2 separate regions of the Homo sapiens genome follow, and region 2 is linked to region 1. Evidence: promoter capture Hi-C in human tissues and cell types (Jung and others, 2019). All regions are on one chromosome and are shown on one strand. The core of a region is centred on a gene start or on the middle of the fragment in contact, and the rest is flanking DNA. Distances in the headings are between cores, read along the strand shown.

Region 1 (3,853 bases), core at 614-3,113:
AGACTCCGTCTCAAAAAAAAAAAAAAAAAAAAGAGAGAAATGGGGGAAAGGAAAGGAAAGGATAGCCACTAAAATGTTAATGATGATCATCTTAAGGGGTGGGATTGTAGGTGACTTTTACTTTTTTTCTTATTCGTTTAGTGTTTAAATGTTATATAATGGATATTTATTACTTATATAATCAGTGAAAAATAAAGCTATTTTCATTGTTGTGGGGGGAATTCTTGGCAGGTAGAAGTCCCTAGAGGATCTGATTTAATGAGCACACAAGATCAATATTTAATTAACATATCAATTGCCGGGATGTCAACTGATGTTTTCCAAAATCATTGAAGTGTAGGCTCTCTTAAGTAGCCAAACTGTCGTCGGAAACATAGTTTACAATTCTCCCATTTAACAAACGCGGAGGAACAGAATGATTACAAATGCTAAAGCGCAGAAGACGATTAAAGGAGGTTATTTATGTACCATCAAATGCTTGTGTATCCTGTACACATCAGTTTAGAATTCTCTCATCAACCCAACCTTGTGGCAACTTCCAAACCCCTCCATCATGGCCTTCTAACTTTTCAAACTTTTTTTTTTGTAAGCCACTTCTCTTTCCAGACCTCTCTGTAGTGGTTCCTAACGTCTTCCCTTTAAACCTTCTAACTTGTGTTTGCTATTTTTATGACTTCCTCCTCCCAGTGCCTGGCTTCCCCAGCTGGGGATTCACCTTGCTTTGGTGGCCACTGTTTTGCTCTTCTCGCCTTCCCTCTCTCCATGGGCCTGCCAGGCTTAGGGAAGGCCGCAGGTGCTTAGACCTTGTCCAATGCGGTGCTCATTGAACACGCCGGGTTCTCAAACAAATGTTAGGGACAGCTGGTTAGACGGGAATCTGGGCCTCCCCTGCTTGCTTTCCGCAACATTTCTTGAGCATTGCTGGGTGTCCAAGGCAGGGCGAGATCCCAGAGCAGTCACGACCGGATGTATGATTGGTGCTCACTGCACAGTGCTGGGGACGCACAGGGAGGATGCCACTGATGGTGTAGGGGGTGGGGACTTGGCAGAGGGAGCAGCATGTGTCGAGGTCTACTGGTTCTCCAAGTTTGGTCCCAGAGCAAAGGCATCAGCATCACCTGGGAACCTGCTGAAAATTCTAATGCTTAGGCCTCACTACCGACCTACCAAAGCAGACACTCTGGGGGAGGGAGGAGGGGCACTAAAAATCTGTTTTATCAAGACCTCCAAGAGACTCCAACACACGCTAGAGTAGTTTGAGAACCACGACTCTGGGAGCGGCCTGAGGATGCTTAGGATGAGCGCAGAGCGGAAAGGAGGATTCGTGAAGGCTCTCTGATGCCAGTCAAGGGGTTAGACTTTGCCCCGCAGGTGCGGCCTCCAGGTTTTTAAGCAGACGCCTGTGGCTCTCACACGCCCTCTCCCAAGGCGGCGTCTCTGGGAGCCCTGGCGTTCCCTGGGCCCCCGGGACCGAGAGCTTACCCGCGTGGGACTGAACTCGCCCACGACCCCCGACACCAGGCAAGAGAGGTTGTGCCGCAGACCCTCCACTCCCCAGCACCAGGCGCTCGCCGTCCAGGTGGAGGGGAGCACACGTGGGAGCCAGGGGCACCGGCGGAGACACGAGCGCAGAAGGCACGCGCTCAAGCCCACGCCCGCGACTGCCGGGACTGAAGGTGTTGCGAGCCCCGGCTCCACCCCTAGCCTGCGGTGCGCCGTGCTTTGGCCCCGCAGGCCCCGCCCCCGGCCCCGCCCCGGCGCGCGCCCGGCCCGCCTCCCTAGGCGTGGAGGAGGGGGGGCGGCTCAGCCCCGCGCCCGTGCGCGCGCTCGCGGCCGGGTTGCAGGGCTGGGCGCGCGCCCCGCGTCCCGGGCAGGAAGATGGTGGCGAGCGCGCGAGTGCAGAAGCTGGTGCGGCGCTACAAGCTGGCGATTGCCACGGCGCTGGCCATCCTGCTGCTGCAGGGCCTGGTAGTGTGGAGCTTCAGCGGCCTGGAGGAGGACGAGGCGGGCGAGGTGCTCCGACGGCCGGGCGGGCGGGCAGGCCGGGCGCGGGGGCGCGCGGGGTCCTGGCGGGGCTGCGGGCGGCCCCAGCCGGGGAAGTGGGGCACGGGCCGCGTGCGTGCGTGCGGGGCGCCGGCGGTCGCCCAGAGCGGAGCATCCGGCCCCCGGCACTCCCTTCCCCAGCAGGCCTAGGGAGCTGCGCGCGGGGGCAGTGCGTGACCTGGAGACCCGGGCCCTGGTGGATTGGGAGTCGGGCGGGGGGAGCAGGTCATGCTAGGGTGGTCTCCGGCCAAGGGAGCGATGAAGGTCAGGCGCGGCGAGCGGGGCTGGGAGGCGGGGCTGGGCCCGAACCTGCTCGGAGGTGGGGAGCCCCAGGCCAAACTTTCTGAAGTTGGGAGGGGGCGGGGATATGCGCGCCGTGGGCGGAGGAGTAGGGCCAAGGGACTCAGGGCGTCCTTCCCCAGCTGAGCCCGAGGGGCAGCGGCCGGTGAGGAAGGGGAGCTCGGGGGTGGAATTCAGGCCTGGGACAAAGTGTGTACCCGGGAACTGAAGGAACAGGGAGTGACGCCGAAGGAGAGAACTGGAGTATTCCCGAGGTGTGGCTTCCTCAGCCGGGGGTTTGAAGAACCTGGATGGGTCTCCGGAGGGCAGGGAGAGGAGGAACTGAGCTGGTGAGTTGGCCTCAGGACCTTAGGGAATTAGGGAGGGGCCCTCTGGCTTTAAGGGAATGGGGACTGTAACAGAGCCCCAGCCGCAGAGCAGGGGCAACCAACAGCCGTCTCAGCCCCCAAGTCCCTGCCTCGAGGGTCTTTCTCCCTCTTCCCCGATGTGGTTTCAGCGGGAGGCTCAGACACCTCAGCGGTGTGGTGAGGAAGGGTCCATTGGGTCTGGGTTCGTGCTGCGGAGATGGAGAGGACAGGCCACACCACAGCCCTAAGCTGTGGCCCAGAGGTCAGGACCTCCCTGCCCCCAGCGCCCCTGTTCTGCTGCCTCCAGGGCTCCGGGTCAGAGACTCTATCTGCTGCTGTCCTCCGGCAAGCCCCGATACCCGCGACCCCTTACCGCATCTCGCCAGTCTGGAAGGCCTGGTGTGGAGACAGAAGAGCTGCCCTTGCCTTTTTTTGGGAGAACCCAGAGGGTGGGATGGTGATGGGGGCTGGAACAGAGTCACATGAGACCATAACTCCAAAAGGAGGTGGGGGCGGGGGTGGGGCTGGCTCCGTGACATCCGTGGGGTGTAGACCTACAAGTAGGACAAGCAAGTAGGAGAGTGTTTCAGGCCCAGTGTAAGAAGACTGTTTGGGCAGATGGGACATTCCAAGATGGAATGGGCTGCCAAAGCAGTTAGGGAGCCCTCTGACCCTGGAATATGTGACCACTCTGGGCTACCGCCCCCATCCCCCACCACCTCCTCCTCCAGCTTCCTGGCTGAATGAATAGGGGAATCCTGGGCTGGAATGTTTGAAAAAGCTTGTGCGGTCCAGGCACCCATTGCTGCTTGGACCCCCTCAGCTGCTCCCTCACCTGACTCTGGGGTTGCCAGGCAGCATAACGGGGTGCATGGGAAGGTGAGTGCTGAAGCTGGACCACCCACTTCACCACTCTCTTCCAGCTCTGACCCTGAGAAGACCACCAGCAAATCACTTTGCCTCCTCCCTTATCCTTATCAGTATCCCTCCTCAAGATGGGGATAATAATGGCACCTCCCGTGTTAGGTGATTATAAAGATTAAGTGAAAATGATGCCTGTGAAGCACTTGCAGGAGTTCCTGGCACATGCTCAGCTGTCAGTAAATAAATAACTCTTATTATCCCAGCACTGTGCATTGGGAATACGATTCATTCATTCATTC
Region 2 (3,853 bases), core at 550-3,049, 80 kb after region 1:
GAGACTACTGGCAGAGCTTTGGCCTATGTTTAAGAAGCTGAACCTCTTTGGGATTCAGTTTCTTCATCCATAAAAACAAAGACACATTCCAAGCCATGCCTGTTCCTTGCAGGGTGTTTGTGAGGGTCAGAGAAAATGTCCTTGAAGAGCCTGGCATGTACAAGATACCCTGAAACTGATGGCTATGATGCCACGGCCTGTGCACCTAGGAAGAGTCAGGAAAGCCCAGTGTCTTGAAAAGCCGAGGCTGGAGCAAAGTTCAAGGAGGAACTCACTTCTCTCCCACTCTAGGACTGACCCTCAAACTAGCCAGAAGAGTGGAAGGACCTACAAGATCAGTACCCACCCCACACTTCATAGGCCAAGAGAGGGACAGTGGTTTACCCAGGGTCACCCAGCATGCTAGAGGCTAAGCCTGCCAGCCACGGCTGGGAACCCAGACTTGTGAATGCCCCAGCCCTCCACATTCCCTGGTCCGCTATCAAAGACAGTTAGTCTAATTAGGAAAGCACACCCTTGCAGGCCCAGCCTCCGGTGATCTCTTTGTTCCTCTGTCTCTTCCTGCCCCAACCCCACAGAAACTGAAGTGTGGGGACCCTCCCTAGGAACCGGGGTTCCAGGGAGGATTTGAGGTCACGCTCAAGATCATAAAGAGGCCCAGCATGGACTCCTTCTCATGACCCAAGTGGAGCCAGAGTTCCCAGATAAGGGCAAAGGTCACCTCAGGCCAGGCTCCACTCTCAGCCACCCCTTCTGCCTGGCAGGGTTTACTTCATCTCCTCCAGTCAGGAGAGGGGAGGTCACACTGCCAGGGCCTTTGCCCCATTCTTCTCCAGCTCCTTCTCTAGAGGAAGAGTCATGGCTAGGCCGAGGCAGTGTGGACCTGGAACAGGTATAAACTGTGCTACTCTTTGGTGCCCAGTGCCACTTTTCCTAGCCAGGACCAGAGCTATCACCTTCTCTGTCCCGCAGCTCTGCCCAGGTCTTAGTACCCCACTCACCCCTGGGCCTCAGGAACCCTAAGGAGGGGCATAGGGTTGCTTTCCATTCACACCTGGGGCAGCACAGGGAACTGTGCCACAGGCCCCAAGACAGGCAGATGGAGGATGAAATACACAGGTCCCAGTCCCTGAGGCCACCTTACGTGTCCGGCCCCCAACCCTGTGCAGAAGGTCAAGGCAGAGGCGCCGAGGAGGGATGGGAGGATGCCTCCTGTGAGATGGGGTACAACTGGTGTTCCTTCTGAAGCTGACATCTGGCCTCAGCTGGGACTCTGGCGCCAGCGGGCCCGCAGGGGGCTCACCCGCGACACCCTTTGTTCTGGCTGCCTCCCCAACCCCGCGGGGCCCTCTGCTCCAGCTGGCATGCCTCAAGGACGCTTCGCGCCTGCTCCTTTGGCCCCCGGCTCGCAAGTAGCGGGGCCAGCACGTGACCCGAGGGGGCAGGGGATGGATGGATCTTGACCTTGCCATCTGGCCCCTCACGGATGTGCTGCTGGCTCTCCCTCTAGGAAATCAACAAATTTTTGCGCTTCTAACATCCAGGCCCCTGAGGATGGTCGCGAGGAAGATCTGTTTCGGACTGCAGCTGGGGCCTTCGGATCCAGAGGAAACCAGGGCTATTCTTCGAGGGTGGGAGGGGGAGGGCCGCGGGGTCGGAGGGGAAGGTGGCCCCGCGCGAAGTCGCCGCCGCCGCGCCCCGCCCCGCCCCGCCGGCGGAGACCGAATCCGCCGCACCCCATAGGCAGAGGCCACCCTCCCCGCCTCCCCGCCCGCTGCGCGCCCGCCCCGCCCCGGCTCACTTTAAAAGTTTACTCGGGCCGGGACGCAGGGCAAAGCGAGCCATGGCTGTCTACGTCGGGATGCTGCGCCTGGGGAGGCTGTGCGCCGGGAGCTCGGGGGTGCTGGGGGCCCGGGCCGCCCTCTCTCGGAGTTGGCAGGAAGCCAGGTTGCAGGGTGTCCGCTTCCTCAGGTACTGGCCCCCCGCGGGAAGAGAGGGGGCGGGGCAGTTCCCCGGGAGAGGAACTTGGAGGTCCCGGCGAGCTTCGGAAGCCCCACCTCTGGACGAGTGCACTGGGGGGAAGGTACCCGCCCCTCCCCCGCCCCCCGCCAGCACCTAGGCAATAGGAAAAGCTGGCTTGGCCTGGTGGACTTGGGTGGGGAGGGGGCTTTGGTTGGTGGCTGCAGTGACTTCGAGTTCTGGTCCAAGACTCTCGATTCCTTCTCCTTTATGGGCACAGAGGGCAAGGAGTGTGGGCTTTAAGGAGAATATTCCGATGGGGAGGGGCAAGGGCCAAGGCCTGGGCTGTACCCCCAGGACACTGCCTCTGAGTTGGAACCCCTTCATGGGCAAACTTGGGGATCAGCCCCAGTCTCCCCGACCCAGGCCACTAAACTTAGCAGTCTCCTGTCTCCTCATCAGCTGCTCACTAACATGGCTTTAATTCTTTGCTGCCTACTCCTGGGCCTATTTCCTTCTGTCCTCAGTGCAAGGGGTGGGATGGAAGCTGGCAGGCAGAGGATTTCAGTTCCCAGTAGCTTCACTGCCTCTGCAGCAGCACAGTAAGTAAAGCTGCCTTCCCGGTGTGACCAGTCCTTGGGAGGACCCCGTGAGATGGCAAATGTGAAAGTGCTTGAGACACAGAGAGCAGGCTGCCACTCATGTTATCAGGGCTGTTAGCTTCAGCAGCACCACTGGGGAGCCCTGTGCACTACTGAGCCTGTCCTACCACTCAACTCGGCCAGATACTAAGTCTATGGTCAGGACAGCACTTTCAGCAACATCAGATGGGGTGTGGGCCTGGACATGGAAAAGGGAGAAGTCAGAACAAAGCTGTGTCTCAGAGAACTAGATTTGTTTTTGTTTTTAAAAAGGCTAAGTAGGAAGAGTTGGAGGGACATGCAGACTCCTTTTTGGCTAGAACTCCAAGATCACACTTTCTGAACTTGCTGATTTCTGAATGCTAGAAAGCATGCAATGCCTTAACATCACTCTGCCTAATTTGCTGAGAAAACTAAGTGGATCAAGGCTGGTCAGTAGATGGGATTGAGATGAGGACAGTGGGGTCCTCTTCCCAGTGACCCTGGGAAGTCACTCACTACTTCCCAGGGTCTCCCTAGACAAGTTCGGCCCTCCCCTGACCCCCTAGTCTCTTAAGCCTCTCCTCTGGACTCATGGCTGCCCCCTCAGGCTGGGAGGACTCTGAGGAAAGTTACTTCCCAAAGTGTACATATTTTATCACACTAAATCAGGCCACAGGGGAAGTCTCTCAGCCTACTCTGGCTCAGGAGGCTGCCCAATAGAAAACAAACAAACAAACCAATAAATAAGTAATAAATCAGGCCACATGGCAACATTTCTGACCTTTGACTTTTTTTTATCTATAAACAAAACAGGTCACTTACCTGCTACAGCCCTGGGACCTCTGAGAGCACCAAGCTTCAGAGAAATTCTTATTGCTGTGTCAGGAGGAGACTCATTTATCCAGACAGATGATTTTCTGAGTGTTTGGCCTACTTTCTTTCTGCCCCTTCCACTCCCTTGTGCCTGCACCCTTATTGTCTGACTGTGATGGTTTTACCTGATTTCTCTCCTACTTTCCCCTTCAGAAGCCTCAGGGCTCAGGCCAGGCAAGGTGGTTTATGCCTGTAATCTCAGCACTTTGGAAAGCAGAGGTGGTAGGATCACTTGAGCCCAGGAGTTCAAGGCTGCATTGAGCCGTCATCATGCCACTGCACTCTAGCCTGAGCAGCAGAGCAAAACCTAGACTCAAAAAATAAAAATAAAGGCTGGGTGGGTGGCTCATGCCTGTAATCCCAGCACTTTGGGAAGCCCAGGCAGGCAGATCACTTGA

What was found. Contacts are between HindIII fragments. The study calls those that stand out against the background at their distance.
Region 2: the fragment with the promoter of ACSF2 here is called in contact with the fragment with the promoter of XYLT2 in region 1 in 1 of the 25 tissues and cell types used here (adrenal gland).

What each region holds. Positions count from the first base shown.
Region 1 is chr17:50,344,263-50,348,115 of GRCh38, forward strand. It overlaps XYLT2 (xylosyltransferase 2), which reads left to right and starts at 1,864. Exons shown (of 11, transcript NM_022167.4): 1 at 1,864-2,013. The coding sequence starts at 1,879. RefSeq lists silencers at 1,651-1,850, 1,911-2,010, 2,081-2,170, 2,986-3,280. The HindIII fragment of the contact is 7,409 bases long and covers 1-3,853 here.
Region 2 is chr17:50,424,419-50,428,271 of GRCh38, forward strand. ACSF2 (acyl-CoA synthetase family member 2) reads left to right here and starts at 1,800. Exons shown (of 16, transcript NM_025149.6): 1 at 1,800-1,971. The coding sequence starts at 1,844. RefSeq lists an enhancer at 1,332-1,876 and a silencer at 1,613-1,932. The HindIII fragment of the contact is 9,502 bases long and covers 1-3,853 here.